Regions from separate parts of the Homo sapiens genome. Here regions 1 and 2 are each linked to region 3. Evidence: promoter capture Hi-C in human tissues and cell types (Jung and others, 2019). All regions are on one chromosome and are shown on one strand. The core of a region is centred on a gene start or on the middle of the fragment in contact, and the rest is flanking DNA. Distances in the headings are between cores, read along the strand shown. Region 1 overlaps TRAPPC9 (trafficking protein particle complex subunit 9). Region 2 overlaps TRAPPC9 (trafficking protein particle complex subunit 9). Region 3 holds the start of C8orf17 (chromosome 8 putative open reading frame 17).

Region 1 (3,533 bases), core at 752-3,251, 160 kb after region 3:
GAAAGAAATGTGAGTCTCAAAATGCGGGGAGCCACGGTGAGGACCGGCTTCCGGGAGCCAGGGCTTCTTCAGGTCGAGGTCCCAGCCCAGCATACAAGGTCGGGAGGTGGCAGCAGAACCTCTCTCCGGGGCGTCTGGGCTCCATTGTCACCACTGCCCTCTGAGCCAGGCTGCCAGGAGTAACGGGCTGGCAGCGCTGTGGGTGCCTTAGGAAATGAAGGGTCCTGAAGAGACCTGCAGTGCAGATGGGAGACCAGCACTCGGGATTGGGCTTTCGCTGGTGTCTGCCCAGGGTGGCCAGGGTCTTCCAGGCCAGCGCAGTCAGTGTGGCCCACAGGGCCTGGCCCACCACTGGCGGGTGGCAAAACCTGCCTGCCCCGTGCCCCCAGTTCCCTGCCTTCCCTGGGGAGTTGCAGGAGCTAGGGTCACAAGTGTCATATTCACTGCTGTGGCTCCAGGGTCCAGCACCCGGCAGGCACCAGATCCTAGATGCTGAGTAAATGACCACTTCCTTTATGTATTTCTTCTTCTTTTTAAGCATGTTTTAAACAATTTGTACAAATCAGTATAAAAGTAATTCATGCTCTACCTAAAATTTAGTGAATATTAGTTCTTCCACTCATTTTCTCTGACCTATGAGATCTAGGTTACTGCTTATTTTAAGCCTTTGGATCATTACTATTCAATCTTATTTTTATTCTTCACTTTATTTTTGTTTGTATTCTGTGTTTGCATTTGCTTCTTTCTAAAAGTATCTGGAAGTGCAGCAGTCCTCCCTTATCCTCGGTTTTGCTTTCCTTGGTTTCAGTGACCCTCGTTCAACCATAGATTGAAAATGTGAAATGGAAAATTCCAGAAATAAACAATTCGTAGGTTTTAAATTGTGCAGTGCTCAGAGTAGCATGGTGACATCTTGCCCGTCATGCCCTGCATCTCCCTTTGTCCAGTGAATCCACGCTGTGCACATTCCCCACCCTGAGCCACCTAGGAGGTGTCTGCCGTCAGATCAGCTGCTGTGTTGTAGTGCTGGCATTCAGTCACTCTTATTTTACTCAATTGTTCTTTTGTGTTATTAGTTAATATTGTAAGTCTCTCACTATGCCTAATACATAAGTTAAACTTTATCATAGGTATGTATGTCGAGGAAAAAACATAGTGTATATAGGGTTCAGTACTATCTGAGGTTTCAGCCGTCCACTGGGGGTCTTGGAACCTGCCCCCGAGGATAACAGGGTTACTGTAGTAGTTTTTCTAACAAAGCACTACAGACTGTGTGGCTTAGACAACAAAAAGTTATTTCTGACAGTTGTGGAGTCTCGAAATTCATAGAAATTCAAGGTCAAGATGTCGGCAGCACTGGTTTCTTCTGAGGCCTCGCTCCTTGGCCTGTAGACGACTGCCTTCTTCCTGTGTCTTCCCTCTGTGTGTGTCTGTTTTAATCTCCTCTTATAATGACACCAGTCCGAGAGGATTGGGCCCATCTTGGGCCTCATTTTACTTTGTATGTCTTTGAAGGCCCTGTCTCTAAATACATTCCCCCCCGAGGTATTGTACTGGGCTTTAGGGCTTCAACATGGGAATTTTTGGAGTCACGATTCAGCCCCTAACACTAGGTGTCACGTATGTTAGTAGACATTTAATAGAGCTGTACAAAGATTAGAATAAAAGTGAGCTATGAGCTCTGTGTTTAGATAACCCCTGTTGATGAATTAAAATGAAAACGGAAGTCATGCTCATTGTAGAAAACTAACAATTGGAGGTGAACACAAAGAAGAAATGGACTATTACCAGAAATCCCACCATCCAGAGATGGTGACCACTAACAGATAGGTATGCAGCTTTCTAGATGATTTTCCAGGTACATATTTTATTCAAAATTAGACATCACTGAAAATATGGCCAGGGTCTTCCAGGCCAGCGCAGTCGGTGTGGCCCGCAGGGCCTGGCCCACCACTGGTGGGTGGCAAAACCTGCCTGCCCCGTGCCCCCAGTTCCCTGACTGCCCAGGGAACTGCAGGAGCTAGGGTCACAGCTGTCATATTCACTGCTGTGGCTCCAGGGTCCAGCACCTGGGAGGCACCAGATCCTCAATGCTGAGTAAATGACTGCCTCCTTTATGTATTTCTTCTATGCTTTTACTTAATATGTAAAACTATGCTTTTACTTAATATGTTCCATGCCAAATCTACATGTAAATTATGATTTTTAATGGCTACATAGTATTCCTTTATGCAAATGTTCCAGAAAGTATTTAGCCCATCCCCCCATATTTTTGGACTATAGGGAGTTTTTAGTTTCTCAGTGTTACAATACTGCCCATATTATAAATCTGGCCATATTAATAATGTTGTATTATAAATCTGCCCATATTAACAATGTGAATAGACCCTGAGTCAAAGGGTCTGTATATTTTTCAAGGCTGTTTGCTACTTGTGAGGTTGCCCTCCATAAATATTACAGCTTTTAGACTCTAATCAGCCATGTATGAAAATATCCATTTCCCTTGACTCTTGCCAGCAATAGCTTTTATTTTCCTTAAAAATCTATGCCAGTCTACTAGGCCAAAAAGAATTGTGCTACAGTCTCTCAGCCTGCATTCTTTGATTACTGGAGAGGCCTGGCGCCTTGCCACGTGCTCATCAGTGGCTGGCGTTTCTTCTTTGATGAAGTGCTTGTCCTGCTTGTTATTTCCACTTCTCTGTGCAGAATCTGGGCCTGGCCAGAGGGGCTACTTGGTGCAGCTCAAGCCCAAGCCTCTACCTCTGCACCTTGGTTCATCTGTTCCCTCCATCTGGAATCTTCTCTCCCTCCCCCTTCCACCCCCACATGCACCTGCCAGCATGTTCCTCCTGGATCCGTCTCACCCAGCATTGGAGGCCTTTCACTCCCTCCCACTTTGTCTGGGACGGAGCCCTCGTGAGGACGGGATGCTGCCCTCGTGAGGATGGGATGCTCTGTGGGACAGCCATCCTGTTGGTGTCAGAAGAAACGGATCCTCCTTCTCTGGTAGCAGTTTGCATTTTCTACCCGTGTTGATGAACTTAGCTCACTTCAGAAAACACAGGCAGAGTGGGAAAAGCAAGGCTTTGGAGGCGCACAGACTTGGCTCACATCTGTGCTGTACCCTGTCTAGCTGTGTGATGTGGGCTAGTCCCTACGCCTCTCAGAGGATGCCTTATTTGTTATATAAGAAATAGTAATTCCTGCCTCGCCAGGTCTCCACTAAATCAGATGATGTGTAAAGCACCTGGAGCCATGTGGTAGCTGACACGTGGCCTTGTCATCATCAGGGTCCTCGTTGGCGTCCTCAGCAGGCATAGCAGGGGGCACAGTCCAGGGGGCATGGTCCAGCAACTGCCAGCCGGGCCCTGTGCCAGGGCCGCACTCCAGGGGCTCACAGTCATGTGGTGGGCACAGACATGCAGGTGAGGACGCAAGAGAGCATATGATAAGTGCTGTAGCCACAGGTCTGCGGGACGCACAAGACAGCAATTCCCTCAGGAGAACAGGGATGATTCCCAAAGGATGTGACA
Region 2 (3,881 bases), core at 1,189-3,688, 150 kb before region 3:
GAGGGTAAAGTATGAATGTGAACAAATAAATCAAATAGCTTCTGAGAGTGCCAGTTCCAGGAAGAAATATGAGTATATGGTCCAGAAGGACTAGGGAGGCTTGTATAGCCAGAGTGACCAAGGAGCATCTCTTGAGGAGGTAGCATTTGTCCTGAGGTCTGAACCATGAGAAAGAGATAGCCATCTAAAGAGCTAGGGGCTCTGGTAAGCCACATCTTCCAAGCAGAAATCACAGCTGGTGCAGAGGCCCAGAGATGGTACCACGTGGTAATGGAGGAGCTGGGAGCTGAAGCCTGCTCTCCAGGACCTTGTCAGTGATGGTGGGTTTTTCTGGGGCTGGCGGCGACAAGCTGCAGGAGAGAGCCAGGGAATGGTGCGGTTGCTCGTCATGCATGAGAATGGTCACTGTGACTGCTGGTTGGAGATGGATTGCAGGGTGGAGAGGGAAACGTGGACGAGTAGAGGCAGGGGAGACGAGGTGGGGAGCCAGTGGCATTGTCCAGACAAGCGATGACAGTGGCTTGGATGAGGGCGGCAGCAGAGGAGGTTGGCGACAGTGGTCAGACCTTAGATGCACTGAAGAATAAGCAAGGGTGTCTTTTAAGGTTTTGGCCTGAGCAGCTGGACGGTGGTTGTTTTATTTACTGAGATGGAGGAAGCTCGGTGGGGATTAGAATGTGGGGAAAACACAACCATATTCTTCAGGCGAGTCATGTGTGAGCACCGTTCGGCTCTTCAGCGGGGCTGTGCGGGAGCCTGTTGGTGTTCCATCTGTGCTCCAGGGAGAGGTCTGGGCTGGAGGGAGAAGTGTGAGAGTCAGCAGCTTAGAGGCAGCGTTTAAAATCCTGGGCCTGGATGACATTCCTGAGGGGGTTGCAGAGATAGAGTGCTGTGCTTTCGAGGCACCCCGACATCTGCAGGGTGATGGGGCCGGGGGGAGGGCACGGGAGACAGAGGAGGAAGAGCCAGGGACTGGGAAGAAAAGCAGGCAGCTCAAAAGCTGGAAACATGGGGCGTGGCTTAGGAGCAAATGACAGCTGCTGAGAACGTCAGGAAGACAAGGCCAGGATGTTGACCACTGGCTTTGAGATTGGAAAGAGTCATTTCAGAGGAGTAGGAGGATGGCAGGCTGACGGTGGCAAGAAGTAGAGCCAGCCCGAGCAGGCAGTGCTTGCAGGAGCTCTGCTGTAGAGAACAGGGAAACAGGATGGTGGCTGGAGGGAGGTGTGGGATGAAGAGAGGGATTTTTTTTTTCTTTTTTTGAGACAGTCTCACTCTGTTGCCCAGGCTAGAGTACAGTGGCGTGATCTTGGCTCACTGCAACTGCTGCCACCTGGGTTCAAGCAATTCTCCTTCAGCCTCCCGAGTAGTTGGGATTACAGGCGCCTGCCACTGCACCCGGCTAATTTTTGTATTTTTAAAAAAGTAGAGATGGGGTTTCTCCATCTTGGTCAGGCTGGTCTTGAACTCCTGACCTTGTGATCCACCCAGGATCCCAAGCCTCGGCCGCCCAAAGTGCTGGGATTACAGGCATGAGCCACCACGCCTGGCCGAGAGAGGGATGTTTTGAAGGTGGTGTTGGCAGTGTGTGATTGTGTGCACTGACAAGGATTGAACAGTGGAAGAGACGGGTGGAGCAGGACGGGATGGGGTGCCTGGGACCAATCCCCCAGAGGCAGCAGGAGCTGGGCACCAGGGCACAGGTGGAGCTGTGGCCCCTGAGAGCCATGGGGAGGCTGCTGCCCTCATCACAGAGGAAAGGGGCTATGTGGGGCTGCAGTGCAAAATTGTTGGTGGAGAGACGTGTCATTTCAACCGACTGCCTCACCTGCTCCCCTTCCATTTCTACCCCGCTTCTTCTGTCTCTTCTTGCCTCTCCCTGCTCCTTTCATCGTCTTCCCCTGTCCTTCTTCCTCTCCCACCATCTCCTCTCTCCCCTCCTTCTTCATCCTCCATACTCTGGGATCCTCTTGTACTTTCTTTGTGGTAGCACATTTCAAAACCTGTGTCTTTCACCCACACCATACCCGCTCTCCAGCACACGATCCAAGCCCTGGTTAGGCTTTGTTTCTGGTTTAGTCTTCAGGAGGATGGGAAGGATCTGGTAACCTGCTAGGTTGCCTTCTGCTTCAGGTGGGGAAAGTCATAGTTAGAAAATGGAGAAGTCTTCTTAGAGTTGTGTGTGCAAGTCTGAACGGCTTCATTTTTATTTCCTTCTGCCAGCCTACCCTTAGAAAAAACCACAGTGATTCCTAAGGGGGTGTGGGGTGGGGGGAAGCTATAGGCTTAGGGGAGAGTTCTGCCAGCACTTTGAAGAAGAAATGTTTATTTTTAACAATGAATCAGAGAAATGAGAGGCAATGCGTTGACAGAGATAGGCTGTGGCTCCCCATGTGGAACGCGCCAGATCGGGACACGATTACCCACAGCAGAGGCTGTCATCTGCTTTTGTAGGGGCAGGGTGGCGTGGACCTCAGCAGGCTGCTGCCGTCCATGACTTGCCCCTTTCTTCTCTAAGTGAGTAGGCAGAGCAGAAGGGGGATGCTCACTCTGAAATAGCAGAATTGGTCACCTGGTGGGATTGAAAGTCCTGGGCTCCCTCCAGCACGTCGGCTTCAGTGAACCCAGTCCTCAGAGCTTAGGCCGGGCTGCCTGACGGGGCTTCCCTGGCATTTCCATTCGAGAGAGGTTTTGGTGGTTCTCATTTCACAACAGAAAGAGCTTCTGCATGGAAAAGAAAGGATGGTTTATATTTAAAGAGAGAGATTTTATCAGGATGGTAAAGATACAAGAGGTTGAAATTTCTGTTTTTCAGTCTAGACCAGTGGTTTCCAAGCCTTTTTTTTTTTTTTTAAACAGTAAGATTCTTTCTGCAAACATACTTATGCAGCAGGAACCCAAAGTGTAAAATAAGGGCAAGTGGTGTAGTCCTGCTGGACGTGGGCGTGTGGGCTCGTGGAGCCTTCATCACATAGTCCACGTCACTCCTGTAACTACAGCAGGAGAGACTGTGGAGCGTCGGGGAACTCTCTTTTTCAAAGAGTCATGGGGCATGAGGTTTGCAAAAGGTGTTTGCAGTGAAACATGGAGCTCTGCAGAGTGTGCTCTCCCTGCACCCCCATCTCCACTCTCCATGAATCTGTACCTGGATTGGCTATAGATCACACAGATGTAAAGCTTTCAGAGTCGAGCGTTGCGAGCATAGGCCTCGGAGTCCAGCCTAACGCTCATCCCAGGCCTCTCCTCTTGGGCAAGTTACCATACCCCACTGGATATCAGTTTCCTGTCTGTAACAGGAGCCTAATGATACACTTACTCCAAGGATAGAAGATACCAGGCAAGAGCTTAGCCCTGTGGCTGGCACTTACTCATGCTTGGTAAACGTCTCCAAGGGAGGAAAAAGCTTATCCTACCCTTTGAGGTTTCAGGCCCCAGAGCCAGGGCTTTCTGACAGATGCATCACCTGGCTGAGGGGCCAAGGACCATGCCAGATCTTTCAGGATGCTGCTCACCACTGGGAGCCTTGGACAGTCCTGGGCCTGCCTGTCAGTCAGCAGCCTTGTCCTCGGCGGTTCTTGGGCAGAAGAACTCAGAAGGCGACATTAGCACTGGGGAAGTGATACATTCTGATTTCCATGCTGGCCTTTTAGAAAGGTAGGCTTGGGTCAGATCATGAAGGCCCTTGAGTGTCATGTGGTGAGCCTGGATATCATCCTATAGGCTACTATTGAAGGCTTTTAACCAGAGAAGGGACACGCTCAGCCTGTTTACCATGGATGAGGCAATTATATGTGGATTAAAACAGCTGGGTTCCCATCTGAGGCAGAAAGGAAGTGAAAGTGAGGAGACTAATAATATTTTTATTACCCTATCTATTTAGG
Region 3 (4,054 bases), core at 193-2,692:
CTATAAGCATGAGTTGACATCTTCTTACATTACATGTCAACGAGAGGTTGGCTGGGGCCTTGGGACCCTGCCCTGCATGACAGTGCTTTTTTTTTTTGAAGACACAGTCTCATTCTGTTGCCCAGGCTGCAGTGCAGAGGTACCATCTCGGCTCACTGCAACCTCCACCTCTGGGGTTCAGGCAATTCTCGTGCCTCAGCCTCCCACGTAGCTGGGACTACAGGCATGTGCCAACACACCTGGCTAATTTTTTTTGTAAATTAGTAGAGACGGGTTTCACCATGTTGTCCAGGCTGGTCTCGAACTCCTGAGCTCAGGCAATCCACCTGCCTCGGCCTTCCAAAGTGCTGGGATTACAGGCGTGAGCCACCGCGCCCAGTGTCTACATGACATTTCTACCCCAGGAGTCAGGTCAGCCAACATCTTGTACTTATGACGGGAGAAAGAAAGGGAGCCATACCACGTGGTGGTCCAGCGTGCTTCTGATCCAGTGTGGCATATGTCACTCTGCTCAGGTCCCGTGGCCAAGGACCTGTGGCCAAGCCTGACATCCACGAGGTGGGGACATTCTCCCATGGTGGCTACCCTGAGCGAGGCCCCGTGGTGCGGGACTCCCTCGGCTGCACGGCGAAGTGGCTCTGTGGGCTGCCTGCGGGGCCTGCCTGGCTGGTTTCTCCTTGTTCCTCCCTGTAAGGTCAATGCTTCTGAGCACCAAAGCCCTGCCTTTGGGCCAGCACCCCGCCCTCAGCCGCACATCAACACCTCTGCGGCCTCTTCTATCTCCTTTTGAATTGTATTATTGCTCTTAGGTGCTCTTGTAATGCTGGACAAATTCTCTGTGAATAAGGGAAAAAATTGAAGCATAAATCATCCGGAGAGTAGCATTTTCTAATTTGGATGTGTGGCAAAACAACTCTGGGTGATTTTTATTCTTTATTTTCAACACAGAATTTCTCTGACAGGCCATCGTCAGCTGCTATAGAGCAATAAATCAGAGTCATCTTTTCCGGGTGAAATGGGCTTAATTTCTCATCCTTTTGTTCGTGTTTCCCTTCCTCTTCTACCGCATGGCACTTGTAATCCTAATGATGCTGTGATGAGATATGATGGTCAGAGCCTCAGACTTATCAGGATGGGCTGACAAATCGTGGAGATCCGCACTGGTCCCACACCCGCCTCTGCTCAGGCGGGCAGGATGTAGATCTGCAGACTGGACCAGCTCAAGTTGATAGCCCCGTAGCATGCAGAGAAAGGAGCACTTTCCAGACCGCGGGGCCCAGAGGCTCAGGTCCAAAGCTTTGTGTGACCTCTGGGCTTGGCTTTTTGTACAATGAGAGCTTTGGACTAGGTGGTCTTCAAGGTCAACTGTAAAATCCTTGACACCACAGACAGGGTTCCAGTGGGCACCTGCCTTAAGGTGCGTGCCAGCCTCTGTGGAAGAGTGTTCATCCTTCTTTCTAGGGCTGTGGTTGTGGGTGATTGCACTAGGAAAGACTTGCAGAAACTGTCATTGTGGATATTTGCCACGTCATTAACCTCAGTCTCCTCCTCTGTGAGATGGGGATGTCAGGATCCAGCTCCTATGGTTGCGGTGAGGATTACGTGTATGCTCGGCTCTACTGCAGCTGGTGTTCAGTGAGTGGCAGTTGTCTATGGTTAATATTCTCATTTTTCAGATTAGAAAACTGAGCCTCATGAGGTCGAAGTGTTTCCCGAGGATCTCACAGCTTGCGGTTATAGAGGTGGGGTTAGAATCATCTAGAAGCTCTTTTCCTCACCCCTTTGGGGCAGTTTGGGAGGTGGGAGGACAAGAGCCAGGGCCTCGGGGTTGCTTCCTGGACAGACAGGGAACAGGCTCCATGACCTGAGGGCTGATTCCAGCAGGGTGGGCACCCTGCATGTGCCTTTTTCCATACCTATGAAAGGGGGCACCACCGAGTGCAGAGTCAATGAGCTAATGCAGGTGTCCAGCGTACACTGAGCACTCAACAGTGTTGCTGTCGTCGTGATTTCATCCTCATAACCCTTGGGTGGCCCCGTTTTCGCCTCCTTCCCTGTTTTGAGCGTCTCCTCAGAGGGTCTCATCTATGAGACAGCGGTGGAATGAGGCTGGGTTTCTAAGGGAGCTCCAGCTCTGGAAGGCCGGTTACTAGGATTGGTTGAAAACGAAATCTCATTGCAAAATAAGTTCCCTCCTCCATGGGGCTAAACACGGGGGATGCTCCTTATTGTATTTGACGGGTCTAGAAGGATCAAGATGGCCTTTGAATATTAATCTGTCACTGGTACCATTTTGTCTGTTTGATGTCTAGGATGGAAAAAAGAGGGGTGTGACTATCTCCTGTCTGATGCGAGCATTGCTGCTTGGAAAGCAGAACAGAAGTCCCTTTCCAAGGCTTGGCTCTAGTCATCGACCCCCTTGTTTTCCCTGTGATCCTGAGCCACCCACCTGCCCTACCGACACCACGGGAGAAGTTGACTGGCGAGAACCGTGTTGTGTGAGCGCGCTGGCCTTGCCACTGCTCACCTTGGCTGTATCTTGTTCACGTTACACATCAACTCCCGGCTGGCGCAGCCCCACTGCCCCACACTATAAGCCTTCCCATCTCAGGAGTTGGGATGGAGGGGTAAACATGCATTAAGATAGTGCGTAGAAGGCTTAAGGGTCTCAGCTCTTCCTGAGTGTCACCCCCTTGGCTGTCACCTCTTAGGCATCTGGGAGGTCCCAGAAATAAGAGAAGTGAAGTTATGCTTGTTCAGCCCCTAGCATATGCCATTCACGATGCTCAATGTTTTCTTTAAATTACCTGTTCATAACAGAGAAGTGTAGAGAATCGGCAGAATCCACGCACAGTGCCAAACACGTATATTGATGGCCTTCTGTGTGTCAGGTGCTGCTCCTGAGGACTGCACCTACAAGGTGGTGCTTGCTCCATTTTACAGGACATGGAAGGGTCTGAGGCAGAGAGGGGCTGGGCTGGAGATGAGGATGGAAAGGTGGGGAGGGCAGACCCCAGAGGCCCATCCCAGCTTAGCCTGCTCTGCTGGGCCTTCCTTGAACACCTGGCCAGCGCTGCCCAGGCTTGCTGGGTGACCAGCCAAGGGACCTGAGTCCACTCCCCACACACCTATGTGTCGGGTGCATGGCACCATGGTTCCTGAAGCAGCAGGGCATATGCAGAAACATGGTTTCAGAAGAGGACAGTATTCTTCTGGAAGACCATGGAAGCCTGTAGCTCAGGAAGAAGCAGCAGGCAGCACGGTAACTCTGTGTGGAGAGAAAACCAAAGCCAAGAACTGAGGCTGCCCGAAGCACAGGACAGCTCAGCTTTTTTTTTTTTCTCATGATCCGCCCACCTCGGCCTTCCAAAGTGCTGGGATTACAGGCGTGAGCCACCACGCTCGGCCCCCTCCCTTTTTTTTTATTGTAAGCCTGGGACCACTGCTGTGTTTGAGAACGGCATTGCACTAAAGTTATTTCAAGGCACCTTGTCTTAACTCAAATGTATCAGACGTTATCTGTTATCCTGGTGACCCCAAGCTTTCAGTAGATTCATGTATTGATCATCCACTCTGTGCTGTGCTTTGTAAGACTTTAGAGACATCGTTGTTTAAAATGTGACAGTCATGGTTCCTACCTGTGTGACTTTGTCAGGGAAAGTGACAGAAAAGTATATAAAACCTAAAATGTAGAAGCTTGTTAATTAATTAATTAATACATTTTTAAGAGAGTGGCTTCTTTATTTTAAACAAATAGAACTAAAAATAATTCCCGATTTCGTGAAGTATTTGCTAGTCATAGATTTTCCACAAGATGGGATTGCCATTGGCGTGCACAGCACCAGCTTGGGCACCCTCCCGCGCCCACGCACACGTCTCCCGTAAGCAACATCGAGGGGCGTGATGCTTGCAAGGCGTTGTCTTAGGGACCGAGGAGAATCAACAGACTGTGATGCAAGGGACTGTGGAGAATCAACGGGCTGTGATGCATTCTTCCTCTCCAAACACCTGTGGTTTCCTAGAGATAAAAATGCACCCACAAAAGGGTGAGACA

The links. Contacts are between HindIII fragments. The study calls those that stand out against the background at their distance.
Region 1: a fragment that was not itself captured here is called in contact with the fragment with the promoter of C8orf17 in region 3 in 2 of the 25 tissues and cell types used here (aorta and hippocampus).
Region 2: a fragment that was not itself captured here is called in contact with the fragment with the promoter of C8orf17 in region 3 in 1 of the 25 tissues and cell types used here (dorsolateral prefrontal cortex).

Annotation. Positions count from the first base shown.
Region 1 is chr8:139,766,836-139,770,368 of GRCh38, reverse strand. The region is part of intron 21 of TRAPPC9 (trafficking protein particle complex subunit 9); the gene reads left to right. Among named protein-coding and RNA genes, the nearest start is that of KCNK9, 65 kb to the right of the region's middle. The HindIII fragment of the contact is 9,949 bases long and covers 1-3,533 here.
Region 2 is chr8:140,084,311-140,088,191 of GRCh38, reverse strand. The region is part of intron 17 of TRAPPC9 (trafficking protein particle complex subunit 9); the gene reads left to right. Among named protein-coding and RNA genes, the nearest start is that of PEG13, 14 kb to the left of the region's middle. The HindIII fragment of the contact is 6,549 bases long and covers 1-3,881 here.
Region 3 is chr8:139,928,808-139,932,861 of GRCh38, reverse strand. C8orf17 (chromosome 8 putative open reading frame 17) reads right to left here and starts at 1,442. Exons shown (of 1, transcript NR_172942.1): 1 at 1-1,442. All of the region lies in intron 19 of TRAPPC9 (trafficking protein particle complex subunit 9), which reads left to right. The HindIII fragment of the contact is 16,447 bases long and covers 1-4,054 here.